Linked DNA regions of Homo sapiens: regions 1 and 2 are each linked to region 3. Evidence: promoter capture Hi-C in human tissues and cell types (Jung and others, 2019). All regions are on one chromosome and are shown on one strand. Each heading gives the region's core, a stretch centred on a gene start or on the middle of the fragment in contact. The rest is flanking DNA. Distances are from core to core; before and after follow the strand shown.

The links. Contacts are between HindIII fragments. The study calls those that stand out against the background at their distance.
Region 1: a fragment that was not itself captured here is called in contact with the fragment with the promoter of AKAP6 in region 3 in 2 of the 25 tissues and cell types used here (dorsolateral prefrontal cortex and hippocampus).
Region 2: a fragment that was not itself captured here is called in contact with the fragment with the promoter of AKAP6 in region 3 in 1 of the 25 tissues and cell types used here (hippocampus).

Annotation. Positions count from the first base shown.
Region 1 is chr14:32,543,773-32,546,602 of GRCh38, reverse strand. It overlaps AKAP6 (A-kinase anchoring protein 6), which reads right to left. Exons shown (of 14, transcript NM_004274.5): 4 at 1-1,373. Among named protein-coding and RNA genes, the nearest start is that of AKAP6, 220 kb to the right of the region's middle. The HindIII fragment of the contact is 5,736 bases long and covers 1-2,830 here.
Region 2 is chr14:32,476,810-32,479,584 of GRCh38, reverse strand. The region is part of intron 2 of AKAP6 (A-kinase anchoring protein 6); the gene reads right to left. Among named protein-coding and RNA genes, the nearest start is that of AKAP6, 150 kb to the right of the region's middle. The HindIII fragment of the contact is 5,364 bases long and covers 1-2,775 here.
Region 3 is chr14:32,327,896-32,330,595 of GRCh38, reverse strand. It overlaps AKAP6 (A-kinase anchoring protein 6), which reads right to left and starts at 1,298. Exons shown (of 14, transcript NM_004274.5): 1 at 1,188-1,298. The HindIII fragment of the contact is 5,497 bases long and covers 316-2,700 here.

The DNA.
Region 1 (2,830 bases), core at 94-2,593, 220 kb before region 3:
AGGTTTTCCAACTTCAAAGCCAATACTTCTGTCTGCTTAAGGTGAGAGGGCAGTGCTAGGTATTCATCAGAGCCATACCAGGCCTCCACAACCTCACCATTCCTAGTGACGTGACTTGGAGAGGAGGCTTGACCTTTTTTGCTTTTGTGTTTTGAAAGAAGTGGCACCGGAGACATGATGTTGTCTGAGCCAACAGAGGATTCACTGCTCTGAGTAAAAGCTGGTGAACTGGATGTTTCTGACTGCAATTGCAATTTGGCATTCCAACTTCTCTGATTACAAGGCTCAAGTGAGGATGTGGAAGCAGAATTTGTTTGTGGCCCCTCTATGGCCTTGGAAGTATAAGAAAGCTCTCCATTTGGCACTGCTGAGCTCTTTGTATTTTTAGCTTGTTTGCCTGAACCAGTCCCCCGTTTAGGTGTTCGGCATGGAGGCACCTCTTCTGAGGTCTTGTGTGGCTTTTTAAGTCGAGATTTCTCTTTATAGCAGTCGTTAAGCCTTCCCAGGCTGGAAGAAATTTCTTTAATGTGAAATTTGACTGTGTTTTCAAGGTTCCCATTCCCCACCTTGTGTAAACACTCATAAGACTGGCTGGCAGCAGAAGGGCTGTTGGGGTAAGAAGACTGCAATACCAGGCAAAGTTTGGATCTGTCAGGAGGATCTACTAGCGAAGGGGTGCTTCTGCTCATCTCAGGCTTTAGATCAACCATTTGCCTCTTTCCACCATTGCCTTTCAGATCATTCTTAAAAGTTTCCTCTTTAAGAAAAAGTCCTCTTTTTGGCAATGTAGGCTGCGTGGGAGAGTCCTCGTTATAATTAAAGCAATCTCTGATGGTTCGTTTGGGGGTTGCATTTTCACAAGGAACAGGCTGCTGATTCTTTGCATCATGATGGGAGGAGGAACTGGATTCTTGCTGCACAGTCTCAGAGGAGGGTTGAGCAGCATTTGTCAGAGCTTCTCCTGAAGATGATGACACCCCCAGTGTTAAGCCTGGTTGCTCTTCGACTGCAGAAGCATTGTCTTCCTCACATCCACCTTTGTCGTCTACTGAGAGAGATACTTGAGATACCTCCTCAGTAACTGCTTCACTGCCATTGGTAGAGATAGAGTCAGCAGCTACCGTAAGTAAACCAACACTTCGGATAAGCTCAGGAAACTCCTTTTCCATCTCACTGTAGCTCCAAGAGTCAAAGGGTTTGGTTTTGACTTGGCTAGAGGTCATGTCACCTAGCCCACTGAGCAAATCCTCACTTGGACTGTAGTCAGACAGTTCGAATGCAGTAATGCCACAATCCAGAGACAAGTAATTTTGAGAACATTTGATGGTTAATTGTCCTGAGTCATCCACTTCTGTTAGAGAATCAAGCCGGCCCTGAAACAGACAATGGCAATGGTTTCAGTAAATGCAACATCAATTACAACATCAGCTGCTATGTAAATGAAATTGCAGTACAGGGCACTATAAAGGTCAAATGTATTGGTCCCTATTGCTTGTGGTTTGACATACACAAAGGGATATTAATCAATTACCACATTGCTTTATATAGTATCTTGTTCTTAAACACCTGAAGATTTTTCACTAATCTGGAGTATACAGCCTTAACAGAAATGTCAAGAGCAAGCCAAAAAAATCCATTCTTGACTTAATTTTCAACTTAAAAATAATATATTATTCATTTAATAAGAATTTCATAAACAAAGCCTTAAGTAATACAATTTCTGGGATCAAAATAATGTAAAAGTAAAATCTCCACGAATGTCTGTTTTGCTTTTTGCTATCATTCCAGTACCTACCACAGTGGCTAACTCATGGTAGATGCTCAATAAATATTTTTAAGTAGAATAATTAATTATAATAAGCCAGTTGTGTTAAACATATATTGATGAATCAAAGGAAGGTAAACTACTGAATTTGCAAATACATAATAGTTCAAGACCAGTTTCTGTTTGGCCCCACCCTTTTGAAGGAGAAAATTAATGAATGTCCAAACTTTATCATTAGAGATAGCATCAGCTCCTCCCTCTGCATGTTTTTCTCCCCAAGTCCTGCTCCCACTGGTGTTTGCGAGCTGTTAAGTGCCCATCTTTCTTACTATTCATAATTCTGGATAGGCTGATTTGATTTAAAACTCCCTCACACTAAAAAAACAGCATTACGATTAACTATTTTTAATTTGTTAAATCTTTAATTCTGTAATTAAGGCTTTTGTCCCATTACTAATGCAGTTTCTGATTTCATACAACAAATGGGAAGATTTTCACTGATGATTTGTTTGGGGTAGAAGAGCCCTGGGAACTATCCTATTTTGCCTACTGGCTAAATAACAGACTGATCTAACCTAGCCCCCTTAGGAAATGAAAAAAGAAAACTGAAAAGTGAAGGGTTGTTACATCCCCAGATCTCCTTTTTTTCTGGAGGAAGAACTGTGGTGAGCCAATTGAAGCTGGATTCCATGTGGCTGCTGGACCCTGTGATCCTTTCAACCAGGTTTTCCCAGATCTGGCTTCTCCAGGATCTTATATCTGGTTTTACTGCTCATTTGTTTGTTTTTGTTTTTGGAATGTTCTCTCCCTTCAGACCTTCACCCTGCCTTTATCTCCTACTCCACTCACTCTCATTCCATAACATCTAGATAAACAGACAAAAAGCCTTATTTAACTTTTCTAAGCCTCAGAGTCCTCATCTATAAATGATGATGGTTGATTACTACAATTACTTTTTCATTTAATCCTTAAAATTTTCTTCTGCCGTCTGTACTATTGTCCCTTTCTTACATAAGAGTAGCTTGGACCAAAAGATGACACCGGCCCTGGATAGAGGCTGTCCCC
Region 2 (2,775 bases), core at 262-2,761, 150 kb before region 3:
TTTCTGAGCATAAAAGTTGTGAGAAAAATAAATATATAGGCCCATCTATATGACACACAAAAAACTATTCAGGAAATAATATTAAGTTAAAGAAACAATGTATAAAATTGTTATAGAATCTGAGTCCAATTTTTTATTACATGTAAATAATTAGAAAAAGTAAATATATCAAAAATGGTAATAGTGGATATCTCTAGTGGTCCACTGATTATTTTTTATTTTCTTCTCATTTTTATAAGAATATGTATTAATCACACAATCAAGAAAACAGTAGAAGTAATTTTTAAAAGCAATTGTATACAACACTGAAAATCAATCAAAGTGAGGAGTCGATGTTTACTTGGTGTAAGTCATATGTGGTCCACTGATTATTTTTATTTTCTCCTCATTTTTATAAGAATATGTATCAGTCATGTAATCAAGGAAAACAATAGAAGTAATTTTTAAAAGCAATTGTATATAATACTGAAAATATCAAAGTGAGTCGATGTCTACTTGGTATAAGTCACATGTTCCTAAGTCTAAACCCTGAGTCAATGGAATTCCTTTTCAGAAAGCATTCTCCCTATATTCCTAGGAGTCCTTTAACATGTCAAATTCTCATCTCCTCTCCCCCCAAAATATTTTCTTCAGCTCCCTCTAATTTAAGACTATCTCTTTCTTTGTGGATACTAATTTTATTCTGAGTCAAAGGGGGGACACAGTAGAAATCAGGAATTCTTGGCCATTATACCAAGGGATCCTGTTTATGCTTCTCTTCCATTTCCTATCTCACACTAACCATTTTCTCTTCCTCCATCTGCACAGCCAGTCTCTATCCATCCCCATTTCCTGCCTAAAAGAGTGATAATCATCTTTCTTTATATTTAGTCATCACAATGTAGTTTATGTGTTCTAGGAGCTCTCTATAAAATCAACCTGAATGTTCACCTTCTTTCCCCTGACGAGCCTTGAGCAGACCTATATTTCAGGCTAAATCTAGTTTTCTCCTTGCTGATTATCTCTTTCTGGCATCGAATTAAATTTTTGTTTTTTTTATGGTAGAGGTCTCCTCTGATGTGTCTTTTACCACATTTGGTTTTCCCTCGGAAGACATTTAGCCCATCTTTGATCCTTGTCACCCACAGGCTGTTAGTGTTACTGCTGCTGCTTCACATCTTGACTCCAGTTGGAGCTTGGAATTCTCCTTTTCACTATTCACTTAATCATTCAGTCATCTGTTTAGCAGATGGACCCGCATTTCCCTGACATCTATTCCATAGTTTCACAGATCTGGGCATGATGTCTTCCTGACACATCTGATGGCAATCACACAGGGACTTGGCTTGTGGGCACACGTACGTGTGTGTGTGTGTGACTTCTTGGCAACAACATTCACTAATGTTGGCTCTTAATCACTGAATAAGAGCACCCAAAACTCCATACAAGGCAAATGCTCAGCACATGCCTTTGCTCTGAATCTTCAAGTTTGCTTTTGGCATTTAGGGCTGATGCCCACTATGTCTGTCAAGCTATGTGAAAGATTCACTAGGGAGGCTCAACCCCAGCCATGCAATGCCTGTTGACAGGAGAATCTAAGACTCTCTCATCATTCTAGCTATATTTATAAAGTGCTCACTATGGCCAGGCATCATTTTAAGCAATTTCACAAATACTATCTAACTTAAGGCTCATTGCACCTCCATGAGGTAGATGCTATTATCATGACCATCATTTTACAGAAGAAGAAAATGAGGCACAGTGAGCTGCTTTATGTAACCCTGTAAGAAATGGAGCTGGAATCTGAACCCAGACAGTTGGGCCCCAAGAATCAACTCTCTTAACCTCCATTCTAAATTGCCTCTCAGCTGTAGCAAGATTGCTATAAAGAAAAATGCTTCATTACTGAAAAGATCTGGCTAAATATGATTTTTGGAACCAAAGTAATAAATATGCCAGAAGGCATTTTTGCAAGTCGGTGATACAACACCGTCTTGAAATTGCAGCACTAAATTCATTTGTTAGGACAGACATTCACATACATATAACAGCCAAGTTGCCTAAGAGTTGAGCTCCAACCTGCCAGCCTCAGCCACTGCTTGGGAGAACTGCGAACCCCAATCTCAGCTTTCCTCTTCAGTTGCTTCTATGTATAAGATGGACCCAGGACCCCTCTTAAGGGCCTGCTATCCTCTCTCCCACACCCCTTCAACACCGCCAGGCATGGAAATAAAGGAAGATCTGGAGCTCCTTCAATGGAAATTCCAGGCACCTAGCTAGCCCTGAGAAGTAAATGAGCAACTTGGTAAGCAAGAAGGTAGCAGTAGCTTAAAACAATAGCCAAGGAAGTTAGGGTCATGAGATGTTCCCTGTAGAAATTAAAGATAACATCTTAATGTGAGTTGTTTTTCAGAAACCCAGACCCCTTCCAAATGGATCCACTGGCATGTAGACCTCAGATAAAAGGGAACTGAGGACTGAACTCTGACTGCTGTTCTTTGTTCTAAATTTCTTCCTGAGGAGCCTGGAAGAGGTCATACCCATGAGCCAGAGCTAACTTTCTTTTCTGCTGATCACAAATTTTTAGATAAAGCTTCATCTCCTTAACCAATTGCAAATCAGGAAACCTTTGAATCTATCTATGACTTGTAAGACCCCGCTTTAAGATATCCCACCTCTTTAGGCCAAACCAATGTATAACCTCTGTGTATTGATTGATGACTTTGCCTATAACCTCTGCCTCCTCACCTTTAAAAGGCCTTACTTGTAAGCCACTGTGGAGGCTGGGTCTTAAGT
Region 3 (2,700 bases), core at 49-2,548:
TTTTGAGTAAAAACTATCAATTTGGCAGCATTAAGCCACAAGACCACTCCCTGATTCTAAGTGGACATATTGATCAATTGAACTGACATGTGCCTCCTCCTTTCTCTCCCCTAGTAGCAATCAGCTGTACCAGGGAAATCCATTTCATTTCCCAAAACAAAAGGCAACATTCTGCTCCTTATCTGACACTGTCAGACTAATTTTTTAGAAAATAATAATAATAATAAAGATGCCTAAAAACAGAGCTAGGAGTTGAAATGAAAATGATACGTGTTTAGAGTTTTGGAATTGAGTTGAGGTTATGACTGAGTCCAGAGGTCTGTAATCCCTACAACCACTGAGGACCCTGATATTTATTCATCATACCCAGATTTTTGTTAAAGTTAAGCAAGGGATGGCAACACCACTGCCACTTCAGAGGCTCTCCCAGGGTTACCCTTCACTGCAACTGCCGCAGAGAGGAGACTTGTTCCTTTCTCAGTTACAAGTCAGCCTGCAAACAACTCCAGCTATTTCAGAGACTAGCTAGAGATGGAAAAATATGTGGCAGTCTTTCAACTAACTCTGAAGGACATGGGTTGAAGAACTACCATATAGATCAAAAGGCTCAAATAATTTCATTTGGTTTAGGTTTTTATGCTTTTAATAAATTCTGTCTTGAATATGCAAGAGATCCCCTTTCACATCAGGGTTATGTCAAATGCTTATTCAGCATTTGTTCCTTGCCATGAAGAAACTGAAACCCAACCGAGGTAAATAATGAATTTCATACTGCAAATCACTGAATATTTCATAATTCACAAGAGCAAAGAGGGGGCCAATTAGCTCTGCCTCCCAAAAAGAAATCTATATTTTTACAATGCTTAAATACTGTTAACTACTCATTTTAAAGCTTATCTGGGGTTTTGCAATTGAAAAATCATCTTATGTTTATGAAAAATTCTGTAAGAACACTTAAAAATAACAGACAGAGCTGGAGCAAGAATAATTCTACATATTTTAATTCCTATATGACTCTTACAGGCCTTTGTCTTAACCCGGCAGCCTGAAAAACGATTTAGGTAAAACAGCCCTTCTTTCCCCAGTCCATTTTAAGCAGAGACAACATCCCCCAATCTCCGCCTTAGCAGACACCGACTAACCAACAAAACAGCCGTGCAATTAAGGCCCAGACATTTAACACTCACCATCTCCTGATCCCACCGTCTTCTTTTGATGTTTACAGCACATCTGTAGGATGCAATACTAGGAGATGCCTTGTTTGACCTGCTGCATGATGCTGTGACATCAGTTCAGATGATGCAGCTCATTATGGGAAAGACTGCTGTTGCTATGGCAACTGGGATGTGCTAGGAATCCTTGCTGCATTTCCAGTGGAGCCTGAGACAATACGGAAGCCCTGTAAGAAACAGACGATATGCAAAATTTAGACCAAAGGAAGAGGATTCCTCATTGGACTAAAATCCATAGGTTTAAAAGGGATTTCCCTGAAAGCATTTTGGAAAAAACAAAAATTATCTCCCCCTTTGTTGTTATACATTTAGAAAAAAAAGGTGGGAGGAGAAAATAGAATTAGTACTAAGCAAATAAAAACTGAAATGTACAATGTTTCCTTATTAGACAATTTGATCACTTTTTCCTCCCTGGTCAGCACTGGGATAGCTTTTTAAAAGTTATTAAAAAGAATTTTTGCTCATCTGTCAAAGACCAAAAGAACAAAACAGCGAGCACAAAAATAATTAAAAATGGAATATAAACAGCTGACCAAATGACTCTAACTCTCAAGTAAACAAGTTTTAATTCTCAAAACATGGGCAAACCCTTGGCCAATGAAGTCTGTCCTGGTTATTTTCCCTGATGAACACCAACCCACAGAACCTTCCCATGCAGAATAAACCCAGCTTTCACCTGGTCATCAGATAGGCAGCAAAGGGAAGTTTGGAATCTAGAGGGGCACAACACACCACCCTCAACTTCTACTGACCCTTCCTTTGGCCTGCAGGGAACCCCTCCTTCTCATGGCCAAAACGCATGTGAGTCTTTTCTGGGATCAAACCTAGTGGTTGGAACAAGTAGCAGACCTGCTAGAAACTTCCTAAATCGTTGGCATTCCAAACATTGGGGTCTGTTTTCTTCTTTTCTGAACAATAAAACTGCCTACCACACAGATTATTTGTGCCCCTCCCCAACCCCAAAAGCTGGAACTGTGTGAAAAGCCACATTTAAACAAGACACGGTAAGGCATTTCTCCAGTTGGTAAAAGAAAAGCAAATCTAAAGCAATCACTTCTTTCCAGTCCTGAGCAGAAATCAACGTCATGTGGTGAGAACTGGGGAGAAGGAGATATGGACAGAGCAGCCTATGTTTTGCATATTTAATATTTGCAGGCCATTGATAGAGAAAAGCAGAATCAAGTTGACCTGTATCCACTCCGTCTTCACAACTCTGAAAAAGAACAACATTCCAAAAGCTTAAAACATGAGACAATTATGTTGTCTCCTCCTGCTTGAGATTTTAAAATGGCACTGTTAACCACCAGCATAGGCGGTGTGGGATGAGTGGCAGAAGGAATTCAGGCAGTGTCTCTGTAAACAGGAGCTAATAAAATGCCTGAGAAGTGCCAATATCCCAGCAGCGTGCACCATCAGCCTCGCACAGAGCAACCCTGCCCTAGATGGGAAGACAGACTTGTTCTTGCTT